5 separate regions of the Homo sapiens genome follow, and all the other regions are linked to region 1. The links are contacts of gene promoters, found by promoter capture Hi-C in blood cells and fetal thymus (Javierre and others, 2016). All regions are on one chromosome and are shown on one strand. Each heading gives the region's core, a stretch centred on a gene start or on the middle of the fragment in contact. The rest is flanking DNA. Distances are from core to core; before and after follow the strand shown.

Region 1 (2,700 bases), core at 1-2,500:
AGTCAACTTTATAGACTTTTATAGAATGAGATGCTGTGTCCAGCACAAGAAGAGAATTCTCCTTGGTGAAGGTAAGAGCCACAGGATGCGAAAGACCATGAGTGACCATGGGCTTCGGTACTGGAAACTCCTCAGGTTTTCCTAAGCAAAGGATAGCTGGACCAGATGTATCTGCAACAATCACATTTCCCTGGTGATCAAAGGTCACAGCGGAGGCAGTTATTTTGGAGGGAAAGTAGAGGCTCAGCCCAAAGGTATCCACTTGGCCGACAAGCTGCATACTTGAGCTAAACACTTTCACCCTGGTGCTGCAAACCCCAGTCCCCAGGGCCAGGGGGTGCTCCAGGACCGCAATGGCCCCGGTGAGCCAAGACACTGCCACCCCTCGGGGATTGCACAGATGAGCTTGCAACCTTTCAGTTCTCCGAAGGACCCCTTCCGCGAAGTCGACGTCCAGGAGGTGCAGGGACCCTGCCTCCGCATCAGTTACCACAATCCCATTCTGAGGGGTGGTCTCCACACCCCAAGGTAAGGAGAATTGGCCTCCAATGACAAGCTTGATCTGGCCAAAAAAATCAAACACTTTGATGGAGCGATCGCCGGCGTCAGTGACAACCACATGGCAGTCGTTGGTGATGGTGACATCCACAGGGTACCTAATGTCTTGGGCAGCGTCCCCCTTCTCTCCAAACTGATGCGCGCATCCTCCCCCTGAGTCAAAAATCTTGACACGCCTCCTGCCGTCGTGCACCACCACGACACGCCCCGTCTTGGGACAAAGCGCCAGTCCGGTGGGGTTGACCAGGGTCCCCCAGCCGCCGAAGGTGTGGTGGCAGGTGAGGGCTCCGGGGGCGCTGGGGGCGGCGCGATGGGCGGCCGGGGACTGGCGAAGCGCTGAGCCCAGGAGCTCTATGAGGTGCAGCACCGGCAGGCAGTCGCTGGTGTCGCAGCCCCGGCAAGCTCGCCTGCAGAATGGGCACTCGAGGGCCAGAGTGCGCGGGTGCGCCAGGGCGGCCACGCAGGCCAGGCAGACCACGTGGCCGCAGGACAGGTTGCGCGGGCGCCGCTGCTGCCGGTGGCCAAACTTCTCAAAGCACACCTTGCACTCGAGCAGGCTGATCTCCGCCTCGCGCATGAGCTCATGCAGCGCTGGCCCGCTCTCCGAGGCTTCGGCCGCCATGGCGCGTCCTGTGCACTCCCGCCGCGCCGCCTGGCCGTGCCCCAGCGACGCTCTCGGTCACGGTCACAGTCATGGTCACGGGGTGGGACGTGCGCCCTGACGTCGAGCGCCGCGGGCCTCTGCACTGCGATCTGCTGCCCCTTGGTGGGCACGCGCGGCACTGTTTCCTGAGGGCCTGATGGTGGACGTTTGCAAGACAAATCCACATGCGCGTTGTGTAGACCTGTAATCGTCACAGCAGTCATGGATGGATTGTGTACACTTTCAGATGAGGAAACACACCTATTGAGGACAACAGGATTGCTCCCTGTCACCCAGCCTGTAAGCGGCAAAACAAGAACTAGAACCCAATCTTCCAGCCCGGGTGCCTAGCAGTGTCTCCAATCCGCAGCGCCGGGTGCTACGGCTGTCCGGGCATAAAACATGGTCCCTTAGCTCATGATGCTTATGATCTGAACCGGAAAACACGAACACACTAGAGAAGATAAACTCCAAGGGAGGTGAGGCAGATGTGTACATTTCTTTTGTGTCTTCTGTCATACTCATAGTTAAGTCAATGTTAGATGAATACATACTTGTAAAATGAATTTGTGCATGAATGAATGTTATAGAACAACAACAACAACAAAAAAAAATCAACGAGGTGAATGAGTGTCAGATGGGGCAACCATGCTGGAAGTGTCTTGCAGAGTAATTAATATGAAATAAGAAAGCTGTTAGTTAATAATAATTACCATAGAACTTCATTTTTTTGTTTTTTAAGACAAAGTCTCACTCTGTCACCCAGGCTGGAGTGCAGGGGCACGATCACAGCTCACTGCAGCCTCCATCTCCCAGGCTCAAGCAATCCTCCCACTTCAGTAGCTGGGACTACAGGCATGCACCATCACACTAGGCTAATTTTTTAATTTTTTTGTAGAGAGGAGGTCTCACTATGTTGCCTAGGCTGGTCTTGAACTTGTGAAAATTGTTCACATTCCTCCCCACCCCTTGGCCTCCCAAAGTGCTGGTGTGAGCCACTGTGCCCAGCCTATGGAATTCACATATGCCTGCCCCATTGTGTTAGGTTGGTGAAAAGGATTCGCAGTGTTTGCCATCACTTTTAATGGCAAAACCGTGATTACTTTTGCAGCAAATTAATAAATAATTTACATAGATTATCTTGTTTAAACCTCATAGCAATCCTACAAAAATATGTTATTTTTATTGTCTTTTTTTCTGATAGAATTCATAGAAATCAAATATCTTGCCCAGGGTCACATGGCTAGGAAGTGGCTGGCCTGGAATTTGAAGCCAGGCAGTTTGACTTCAGAGTTACCTATTTTAGTCATTTTCAAACTTCTTTGCACATGGTAAACACCTGGGTCGCACCCGAAAAGTTTAATTGGCCCATGGTGTGGTCTGGACAGCTGGGATTTATAAAAGCTCCCCAGGTGATTATAATGTACAGCCAAGTTTGAGAAACACTGCATTATAATAATTCCCTCAAATGACACTAAGTTCAGTTTTTCCAATCTCAG
Region 2 (2,713 bases), core at 86-2,585, 350 kb before region 1:
CTCTGCTCTATTCTGCATAGTACAGACAAGTCAAGCATTTACCTCCTGGCTTAGAAGAGGCCTTGCTTCCAGGGCTATCCTTTTCTTATGCTCCTCTTTTACAGGCATTAGGGGCTTGAAAAACTTTGGTGGCTGAGGAGAGAATGCTTTAAAAGGGCTGACGGTTAAGGCATGAGGAGTCTCTGATGTACAACCTAGGGAAGATGAGAAGTTATGAGGTTACAGATGCTGAACACTTTAAGCAAAACATAGGAACTGAGACAATGACCCAGCCATGGGAATATCTGGGAGAACAATGAAATTCATAGGCTAATATTTGGCTAAGCATTAAAACAGATGTATGCCCACCCTGTGCAACATAGGGACACCAGTCTGTGAAAAAAAAAATAAACAGATAGCCAGGCATGGTGGTGTCTACTTGTTGTACTTGCTACTCAGGAGGCTGAGGCGAGAAGATCGCTTGAGCCCCAGGGGTTGAGGCTGCAGTGAGTTATAATGGTGCCACTGCACTCCAGCCCGGGCAAGAGAGAGAGAGGGAGACCCTGTCTAAAAACAAAACAAAAAAACCCCACAAACAACAAACAACAAACAAAAAAACCCCCAAAAAACCATGGAACAGATGTAGGCAAGAATAGACATAAATCTGTGATGTCACAAAGAGTTACTACAGTGCTAGTCTGTGTGAACAAAGTGAGATAGCAAATTTCTACACTCTTTTCAAGATCCAGCTTAAGCACCACTAACCAGACCAATTTCAGCTCACGCTGATTTTCCATTCCTCTGAATTCTCACAGCCCTTATTATCTGCATGTTCATTTTGGCACCTTATCATTTAACATCTCATTTTCTGTGTATCTTATTTCCATAGTTATAAGACAGAAAGTAGAGGCTCAATAAATATTCAATGAATTAATACTGTGTAAATTTTCTTGCGAGCCTCTTTTTTTCCCCCTCAGGCCACCCTGCTATATATGACTAAGGGAGGACAATTCTTCTTCCTTGCTTGTATCATTTCTTACCTTTTTGGCCTCTTTCCTCCCTTTCCAATTTGTTAGTATAATGGCGAATATACCTTATATTTTACCTACTAATATAAGGTATAAGGTAACAGAACCGATATATATGGCCAAAGAATACTGTTCCCATTAAGGCACTGGTAGACTGTATAATTTAGGTAATAATGTCACCATGAATCAAACTCATTTTGGGTATCGTTTTTGAAAACTGCTTTATGAATCAAAGTCATGTTCTTTTAAAAATTCCTTTGAGTACACAAATATGACAGAGCTGGATATTCTGGTAGAAAATAATAGGATTTGTATGTGTCTCAAAACTGGACTTGAAAGTCAGGAAATGATGACAAAAAATGATTCAGAAGTTCTAAAGTAATACACAAAAAGTCTATGATTATTTGGGTGATATGTTGGATACAAAACAAAAATAAATCAAATAAGTGAATGTTATATGTTACATTCAATAACAGTTTTGTATCATCTAGTTAACTAGAATATCAGCTTCATATCTTATTATATGCCATTAATGAAAGACATTTTTTCATACTTTTTCTAAGTAATTACAAAGAAATATCACTGCAAAATAATCTCACCACTACCTTCTTTATTCCTTCGAGGAGAATCCCTGGGTAAAGTTCCATAACATGCTACATCTTGGTAACTGGAGCTATAGTCAGACATGTCCAACTGGTTCTCTGGCCAACCCTACAAGGTAAAAATATGGGTTAACTGTAATTGAATCACTCCAAAATAAGAAATAAAGCCCAGGTTGGAGTTTCTTCTGTTTTTTTTTAATGGCAGCATATGCTCTTCTTTATTTTTATTATGATTTATTTCAAATATACAGAAAGGGCTGAATATCGTAAAAAATACTGTCATATCCAAGGTATACCCGGAGTGAATACATGTTAATATTTTATTATATTTGCTCAAGTTTAATAAAATTATTACAAATGTAGTGTGATCTTTTGGTCCCATTCATCTTCCTTCCTCCCCAGAGGTAGCTACTTTGAGCAATGTGGCATATACCCAGAGTGACTTGATAATTTAATGACCAAACTGAAACACTCTCAAAGGACAACTGTTCCATTAGTAATTCTGCCTGGGTAGAAGGCACAGCTGAGACTGTCCAAGGCAAATTTGGCAGTGTGGTTACTCTACCTATATTTGAGATTTAAAAGTTTCAAAGAGGCATAAAGTATTGGTATACAAAACAGAGAAAACGCTGGCATATCATACGAGCTTACTTAATCTTATGTCAACTTATCAGGAGTTGATTGCCTCTGAAGACTAAATTTTAAACTTCTTAAGGACATAAATCTGTGCTTATACCTTTTGGATCATCTAGTCTCTAGCATAGTAACTCATATATAATATGTATTCAAGAAATATTTGTTGAATAAGATCATGTTGCAATCTGTCCTTAATTTTAAATCCCCTCTTTTACCCATTGAAATAATTTTGATTATGCTATGGTGGATGTAACACCTTCTCCAATCATTTAGAGTTAAACCCATAAACACACAGATATCTATTCAATTATGTGTGGTACTGTCCTGGTATGGAACCTATCATGGTAAGTAACAATGTAATACTGAAAGTGCATAGCAATTGTCTGGGCATGGTGGCTCATGCCTGTAATCCAAACACTTTGGGAGGCCGAGGCGGATCGATCACCTGAGGTCAGAAGTTCGAGACCA
Region 3 (2,700 bases), core at 56-2,555, 270 kb before region 1:
GTGCGTGACCGTGCCTTTTTAGTAGAGATGGGGTTTTGCCATGTTGGCCAGGCTGGTCTCAAACTCCTGACCTCAGGTGATCTGCCCGCCTTGGCTTCCCAAAGTACTGGGATTACAGGCATGAGCCACCGTGCCTGGCCAAAAACCTCATACATCTTAACAGACACAGGTTGTTGTTGTTTTTCTTCAGCCCAGTTTACTAAAGCTATACAGACTTTAAACAACCTGTACATCAGAACCATCTGACCCTCATAATGCAACAAATCCCCTCCAGAAGGAAATCACCCAGGCTGTTCTGGGACCAGCCACCTTACTTGTTAATGTTGCTGCCTTCTTTCAGTCGCTCTCCTGCAGCTCCTGTTTTAGATACTCTTTCGCTACCCGCCAGGTCTACCAAGCTGACCTTACTGACTTTCTCCCCGGAATTCTAGTTATAGGAAACGAGAGAGAGAAGAAAAACTTATCAATAAAAACCACATGGATATCTACATATATGTTAGCACTATAATTGAGCAATCCATCCCACTCTCATATGGCAAATTTCTTAAGTTTTTAAACGGTCAGAAGAGTTATTTGAACCAGCAATTAATTTCATAGTTAACATTTAAATAGGCGTAGAAATGTAGCATTTTGTTTTGCAGCTGGGTAGCAAGTACACCCAGCTTTCTGGAATACAGTCAGAAAGCTGGAGATTTAAAATGCCTATGAGGAGATATGAGGACATGAGGATTTCTGCACATTCAAGTCAAATCCTTCTTCCTTTGAAAAAAGGTTTAGGCTAAAGGTTGTGGTGTCCTCTTTAATATCCCTCAATGGCTATGAAGCTGACATGTTTCCATGGGAATTTCAGCATGAAAGGATATATATTAAAAGCTGTATGGTGATGTCATCACACTTGTTAGGGACTTTGCACAAGAAATACAATTATTTTTCTTTTTTGTTTTTGTAGAGTCTGGGTGTTGCTATATTGTACAAGATGGTCATGAACTTCTGCCCTCAAGCAATCCTCCCGCCTCAGACTCCCAAAATGCTGGAATTACAGGCAGGAGCCACTGCACCAGGCCAAAATCCAATTTTTTAAAAAGTCAAATATAAAGAAAGACCTAACAAATTAAATGATAAGCAAAGTAGCTCACCTAGTAAGCAGAAGAGCCAACATACAATTCTCAGCCACTGAACCCAACCATGAAAGACTTTACCTATATGGACACTTTCAGTTCTTCCACCCCCACTCCAAAAAGGTTCTGCCTAATCCCTTACCCCAGACTGCAGGTCATAAAGTGTCTGTGTGATTATGATGTTGAACACAGCATGGGAGCGGCTGCTTTCTTCGTTCATGTTGGTAGCAGCTACCGTTCGAGACTTATTTCCCTCAGACATCAATGACTCAATATCCTAGGGGCAAAGCATAAGGAAAAGACCATAAGCAAAAACACAAGAATGTAGTCCTGCACACCAGGTATATGTATTAATTATGATTCCTCTGATGCCTTTGTCACCACCCTTCCATAGAAACCTCCCTGCCGCTCCTCCATTGAGCATGGTTTGAGCTTCCACCTCACTCAAGACTTTGTAATGTATGAAATGTTTCCCTAATTCTTTCCATTTCCCAATTGTCTTCTTTCTCAGTTGAGTCCCTATTTTCTCCTTTTTGGGTTCCTGGGATAGCTAATATTTATTGAGCACTCCGATAATCAATAATAGCAGTGACTTGATTTAACTCTTACTCTCCTGTGCTTACCAACCCGCTGATGCCTGCCTGTCTGCCTCCCTCCTCCAATACTGTGGCTCCCTGATGGCAGGGTTTTTTCCTTATTCCACTTTGTACACTTGCTCCTAGAATGCCTAGAGCCTATGGGATCTTATGAAATATTTGCTAAATGAACTTTATTTTCTTGCTTTTACATACAAGGATGCTGAAGTTCGTGGAGGTCAAGCAACTTTCCCCAAATCCAGTAAGAGGTAGAGCTGGGATGCAAATAGAGCACCCTGGCTCCTACTAGTAAGTGACAGGATAACATCAACACTTACCTCAACCACACTGAGCTAAGAACCAGGGACCTCAGTGAAGGAGCTGAGTTAGCACCTTTAGACCAAAAAAGTATCCATTCATTTCAGAATCGAAACCTTTTTAAAATGATCACTGTGCTCTATTTCCGATTAGAGCAATTCTATATATACCTTGATTTAAATGGCTGGAGAGAATCACTGCACAGATTAGTTTTAGCCATACTAAGTCTGGGGTGATAATGGGCCAGCCACATCCCACAAACAGCACAAAGTAAGTGCAGGGATTTGCTTGTTTCTCTGTGCATTCACTCATTCATTCACATCCTTTAGCAACAGAGATAGCAGTTTGTGTTATGAGATTTCCAAAGCAATCACTATAGAAATAGAAGCAGAATCTTGAGTCAGATCTTAACAAGGCATATAAGTCAAAGAGTAAATAAAGTAAAACAGGCCGGTCAATGGCAAGAGGAGTGATTCAGAAAAACAGGAGAGCCAGAAGTGACAGAAACCAAGGCAGGAGACCCTGCCAAAAAGAAAGGGCTGTACTAACTGCCAAATACTGTTTAGAATACCACATGTCTAGAAGGATGTCACTGGCATCATTGGGAGAACAGTTTTAACAGAGTAGTATTAGTGAAAATATGCAGCAACCTGAAAACACTGGGCCTCCCGGCCATACTGTAAAACCTT
Region 4 (2,700 bases), core at 55-2,554, 330 kb before region 1:
CCTTATACCACTGTCATACAGACAGCTGATATGTATTTTGGGGTAGACTATTTGACTGAGATTTGAGATAGGCTTAGGAAGACAGAGTGGCAAAACTACAGGGAACATTCTCTTGCCCAATCTCAGTTTGAGCAATGAGGCAAACATCCTTTAAGCCTTAAAGGATGAAATGATTTAACCTTAGGACCACACAGATAATGGCAGGTCAGAACTGTAAGCCATGTCTGAGGTCTCCAACCTCAGCTGTCTTCCCTGATGCAATCATCCCAGGGGAAAGCTGGGGCAACCTCAGGCTATATACATACAAGGGTCTGTACTACACTGTTGAAATAAAAGCAATAGCATACTATTTGGAATATAAGGATTGGTCAGTACTCTCTATTGACCATAACAATCACTTGAAAGAATCATAACTGTCCCAAACACAGGGCAACATTGTAAAATAAATAAACAAAGTAACAATTTTTGCAAAAACATTTGGCAAAACAAAGTAATCACGTTGAAAACAAAAGGGTCTTGGTAGAAAAAAATTTTCCTTATAAACGAGAACCTAGAATCCCTTAATTTAGATTTATGACTAAAAAGTGCTTTAAGAATATAGTCAAAATTATTTTCATATATACTTCAAAATGAACTGCTTTTTTTTTTTTTTTAGTTTGGTAACCACCATTATCAGTTATATGACTAACTTATTAAATGTAATCCTAATCCTGAAGTAATTTATCTTGAACTAATGCTTCCTATTAATGTAAAAGAACAAATGGCTCTAATTTATCATAACTTTTTAAACTATGGAGGTAGTTCTATTAACTGAAAATTGGCCTAAGCATTCATGACATGAAATTGTTGCAAAACCAGCATATTCTGCATTGGTTTCAGCTACTGCATGAGAATAATTCTTTTTTTTTTTTTTGCATCAGAATAATTCTAAAACACTGTGACAACAACAAAAACACTTAACAGACGTGACCTGGAACATGGCAGCAAAGAAAAAAAAAGCCTTTAAAATAGTTACAGTCCAAATTTTAAGCACTATGCTCTTAAAGAGCACATAGCACTGGGGAAAGGCTAATATTTTAAAGTTTACAATTTGACAAAAATCAGTTTTAACTCAGAGGTAGAGCTGTTTTTTAAAAAATGTGAACAGTTGCTGGGTGTGGTGGCTCACACGTGTAATCCCAGTACTTTGGGAGGACCAGGCAGGCGGATCATTTGAGGTGAGGAATGCAAGACCAGCCTGGCCAACATGGTGAAACCCGTCTCTACTAAAAATACAAAAATTAGCTGGGTGTGGTGGTGCGGGCCTGTAATCCCAGCTACTCGGGAGGCTGAGGCAAGAGAATCACTTGAACCAGGGAGATGGAAGATGCAGTGAGCCGAGATTGTGCCACCACACTCCAGCCTGGGTGACAGAGAGAGAGACTCTGTCTCAAAAAAAAAAAAAAAAAAAGTACTGAGCGCAGTGGCTCACGCCTGTAATCCCAGCACTTTGGGAGGTCGAGGTGGGTGGATCATGAGGTCAGGAGTTCAAGGCCAGCCTGGCCAACATGATGAAACCCCTATCTCTACTAAAAATACAAAAATTAGACAGGTGCGTTGGCAGGTGCCCGTAATCCCAGCTACTCTGGAGACTGAGGCAGGAGAATCGCTCGAACCCAGGAGGCAGAGGTTACAGTGAGCCAAGATTGCACCATTGCACTCCAGCCTAGGGGACAGAGTGAGACTCAAAAAAAAAAAAAAAAAAAAAGCAGCAAATAGTTGATCCTTGGAATGTTCCTCAAATGAGAACATTTAGTTAGTTGATGACCCATATACTTATACTGCAGGTCACAGTTTGGAGCACACAGCCGATGTTTTTATTGAACACCAGAGATTTATTAAGCCACAAAATTTTATTGTGGACAGGGACCTCAGAGGATTATTAAGTCTACTTCATCAGTTTGGAGAAAAGGGGAACTCAAAGTTTAAATTTTCCAGCCAAGATAACCATTTAGTAAAGCTCAACTAGACTTAAGAACCCAGGTTTCCTGACTCCCAGTCTAGTGTTCTCTTTCGACCGTGCAGCCACGTAGAAGTTGATGGCTAAGTGAAGGACTGAACTGCTATGAGAATACCTACAATCCCATTTCCTGCTCCACGGGCTGCACACACACAAGGAAAAGTCTGGTGGAGAAGCCTACCAAACCACAGCAGCCCTGTCCTTGCACCTACACTCATACTCTGAATGAAGTGTGGACAGATGTTCCGAGCTAGAGGGAATTTTGGGCTTGAAGAAGGCAGGCAGCATCTGACAAAGCTATTACTGCCTTGAAGTTCAATAGTCTGTGCACTGACTTTCAGCTTTCAGAAGAGACTTTGCCTGAAAGCCAGGAAGCCAAAAGGAAACTAAGATAGAAGAGAAAACATCCTCAAGATTGGCTGGGCTTACACTCAGACTCCATAGAGAAATGTTTTCTCCTCGGCACGATAGGGAGAGTGCTCCCGATCACATATGACGGTGAGGGAGGCAGATTTAACAGTGATTCTTCCCAGTTCCTAATTCATATCTGGTAGTAAACTGGGGACTCAATGAAGCACACACATTTTTTTTTAGGCTACTGGGGGACAAGATCCTAATTTTATTTTTTTTGAGACAGCCTTCCTCTGTCACCCAGGCTGGAGTGCAGTGGTATGATCTTGGCTCACTTGCAGCCTCTGCCT
Region 5 (2,700 bases), core at 157-2,656, 370 kb after region 1:
CTTGCCTAATTTTGGCAACCAAAACCCTGTGGCTGTGAGCAAGTTTGCCTCCGTTTTGATCCATGATGTGTATGACAATATATTTTTTGGCTGTTCTAAAGCAGACTGCCAATTAGATCCAAATGTGTCAGACAGACTCAGAGAGGGTACTAGTGGCCAAGTTTCCATTAGTGGTTACTACTGATTGATGCCTGCAGCTTTCTGTTCATGTACAAATAGAAACCTATTCTCATCTTTGATCTTGGGGTTGGGAGTTGAGGTAATGAGGAGAAAGTCCCGGAACACAATTAAATCTCTTTGTATCTCTCAACTTGTAACTTTTGTTTTCCATTTAACACAGGAAAGACTCTGAATATTAGGAAGTTGTGATTCTCTTGTTCAGACTAGGGCATGCTTTTCATTTGCTCAGATACAGAAGGATATAGGGAGAAGGAAATAAACCATGTTTATGGAAACACAGCTCTGTGCCTGTAACGGTGTTAGATGCTTTCCCACGTGACCTCATCCAATTCCCTAACAACTCTAGAAAACGAGGATTCATATTCCACATACTCTTAAGGAAACTGCGTTTCAGAGGAGAGGGAGAAAAATACATTCTTCTGTGTTGCGCACATTGTAAGTGGCAAAACAAGTTGAAACAGGCAACTGTTGGCCTCAATGGCCTGTGGTATTTCCACTCCACGGTATAACAATGTAAGTGATTATGGTGTTAATCCTCCTGGTACTGCAAAAGAGCTTTATGAAAACCTTGAATGCACAATGGGAATGGGAACTATTCTGAACAGTTTATTTAGTCTAGAAGCTTACCTGTGAGTCATCATAGACCAATACAAAAAAAATCAGAAACCTAATTTCTAGATTTTAGCCTTTGCATTAATACTTAGAAATAAGCTGGTCTGTCTATCTATCTATCTATCTATCTATCTATCTATCTTAGTCTCTGCCTATAGTTTCTGAAACCAGAATCTTGTTCTGAGAAGTAAACTGTGCAAGGGGAAAGGATGAAGGAGAAAAAAAGCCAAGCGAACCTCTTTTCTTTGTAATGAGTCATATTGCCTGCACTTGGATTTTCACTGACACCAGCTAGGACAGTTTCTGCCCCTCCTCTCTCAAGGAAGACCTTAATGATGGTTCACAGGGCCTGAATCTTATCTGTGGTACCAATTAATTCTGGAAACTAAAAGTGTACTCATTTGAATTTATGTTTAAAATTTTTTTCTTTCTCCCTCCTATACTTATTTTCTAGGGAAGTAATTTGACATTTGGGTCTGCATTACACCAAAGTGAGTGAAAGATACTTTGCTACAGTTTTTCAGGGAAGGGAGGTTTATTTAGCTGTGGTAAATAGCCTAGAACAGAGGTTGGCAAACTTTTTCTGTAAAGTGCTGTATCGTAGGTACTTAAGGCTTTGTAGGCCATACGGTCTTTGTGGTTACAACCCAACTGTGCTGTTGTAGTGTGAAAGCAGCCAGTCAACACATAAATGAGTCAGTACGGTTGTGTTTCAATAAAACTTTATTTATGCAAACAAGAGAGGGGCCACATTTGGCCCCTGAGCTGCGGTTTGCCAAACTTTGGCCTAGAACATATCTCAGGTTTTTCTCTGTGTTTGACACCTACTGCCAAGCACATAGTAAGTGCTCAATAAATAATAAATGTTTTTAAATAACTGCACATGTAAAGGAACAATAGAACTCTTTCCAGACTTTATAACTAGCAACTATGTTATACATTAAGGAATGAGTTGGTAGGAGTAGAGTCAATCTACAGATAGAAGAATAAAGCATGAGAGGTTAGGGCCTCAAGAAGCTGCAGGCAAATTTTCATGTAGAATTCAAGCTCCCTGACTCTAATCAGTGGTGCATTTACTGAGCTCCTTTGGTGCATGCAAGTTTATATTATTTTACCATTTATTTTAAGGAAATCTATGTCTTTCAAAGAGAATAATATTAATTTCTGTTGCATCAGATAAGCTCCTCTGGGTTGCAAGAGATAGAAAACCCAGTTCAAACAAGCTTAAACAATACAGGGAAGTTGTTGGCTGATGAAACAGAAAAGTCTTGATATAGAGTAGGCTCCAGGCAAGCTTGACTCAGGCACCCAAAGTCACCAAGAATCCAGTTCCTTTCTGCCTCCTTGTTCTGCCTATCACTTGGTCATCTTCATTGTCAGATTCCACCCTATGGGGTGCTCCTTAAGGTTTTCTTGCTTGGGATGGTGGAATAGGGAAAATGAACTAAATCCTCCTCAAACTTTTGCTGACCTTGGCCAATTGAAGAAACAGAGCACAGATAAAAAATGGACTAACGTGTCCTGGCTGGTGAGTGGGAAGCCGAATGAAACTGGGCAAGTCAACTGAATATTTGGCAGTCCTGAAGACTGGGAACAGACCAGGGAGTAGATGCATTCTAGGGAGAGGAACATCTTTGGAGGTATGCAAGAGTCCAGCAAGTTTGCTTAGTCCAAAGTTGTTTAGAATCACTGGAGTATAAAGAGTAGGGGGGATGTAAGGATGGATGGACAGGTAGGAGAGGACCAAATCCTGAAGTGACTTGAAGAAATCAGCTTTTATCTCCAAGATAACTAGGGCATTGCTAAAGTTTGAGCAAGGTAGTGACGAGATGAAACTTACGTGTGAGAAAAATTATGTTGATAGTTTTGTGGAAGGAGGTTGAGGGAGAAGTAGGGAGAAAAGCAATG

The links. Contacts are between HindIII fragments. The CHiCAGO score rates a contact against its expected background, and 5 or more counts as called.
Region 2: a fragment that was not itself captured here is called in contact with the fragment with the promoter of NHLRC1 in region 1 in 4 of 17 cell types (neutrophils, monocytes, M2 macrophages and 1 more); the score reaches 14.2 in neutrophils.
Region 3: a contact is called between a fragment that was not itself captured here and the fragment with the promoter of NHLRC1 in region 1, in 8 of 17 cell types (M2 macrophages, M1 macrophages, megakaryocytes and 5 more). The highest score is 13.9, in M2 macrophages.
Region 4: a contact is called between a fragment that was not itself captured here and the fragment with the promoter of NHLRC1 in region 1, in 7 of 17 cell types (neutrophils, M2 macrophages, monocytes and 4 more). The highest score is 13.5, in neutrophils.
Region 5: a fragment that was not itself captured here is called in contact with the fragment with the promoter of NHLRC1 in region 1 in 1 of 17 cell types (total B cells); the score reaches 5.5 in total B cells.

Annotation. Positions count from the first base shown.
Region 1 is chr6:18,121,427-18,124,126 of GRCh38, forward strand. NHLRC1 (NHL repeat containing E3 ubiquitin protein ligase 1) reads right to left here and starts at 1,251. Exons shown (of 1, transcript NM_198586.3): 1 at 1-1,251. The coding sequence starts at 1,180. The HindIII fragment of the contact is 6,107 bases long and covers 555-2,700 here.
Region 2 is chr6:17,771,866-17,774,578 of GRCh38, forward strand. It overlaps KIF13A (kinesin family member 13A), which reads right to left. Exons shown (of 39, transcript NM_022113.6): 36 at 1,613-1,718; 37 at 43-194. Among named protein-coding and RNA genes, the nearest start is that of NUP153-AS1, 66 kb to the left of the region's middle. The HindIII fragment of the contact is 5,011 bases long and covers 1-2,713 here.
Region 3 is chr6:17,849,063-17,851,762 of GRCh38, forward strand. It overlaps KIF13A (kinesin family member 13A), which reads right to left. Exons shown (of 39, transcript NM_022113.6): 8 at 1,261-1,395; 9 at 315-427. LOC105374953 (a long non-coding RNA gene) reads left to right here and starts at 1,372. Exons shown (of 3, transcript XR_001744007.2): 1 at 1,372-1,459; 2 at 1,913-2,002. The HindIII fragment of the contact is 3,444 bases long and covers 1-2,700 here.
Region 4 is chr6:17,790,471-17,793,170 of GRCh38, forward strand. The region is part of intron 25 of KIF13A (kinesin family member 13A); the gene reads right to left. Among named protein-coding and RNA genes, the nearest start is that of NUP153-AS1, 85 kb to the left of the region's middle. The HindIII fragment of the contact is 3,583 bases long and covers 1-2,700 here.
Region 5 is chr6:18,488,024-18,490,723 of GRCh38, forward strand. No RefSeq gene overlaps it. Among named protein-coding and RNA genes, the nearest start is that of MIR548A1HG, 33 kb to the right of the region's middle. The HindIII fragment of the contact is 1,213 bases long and covers 801-2,013 here.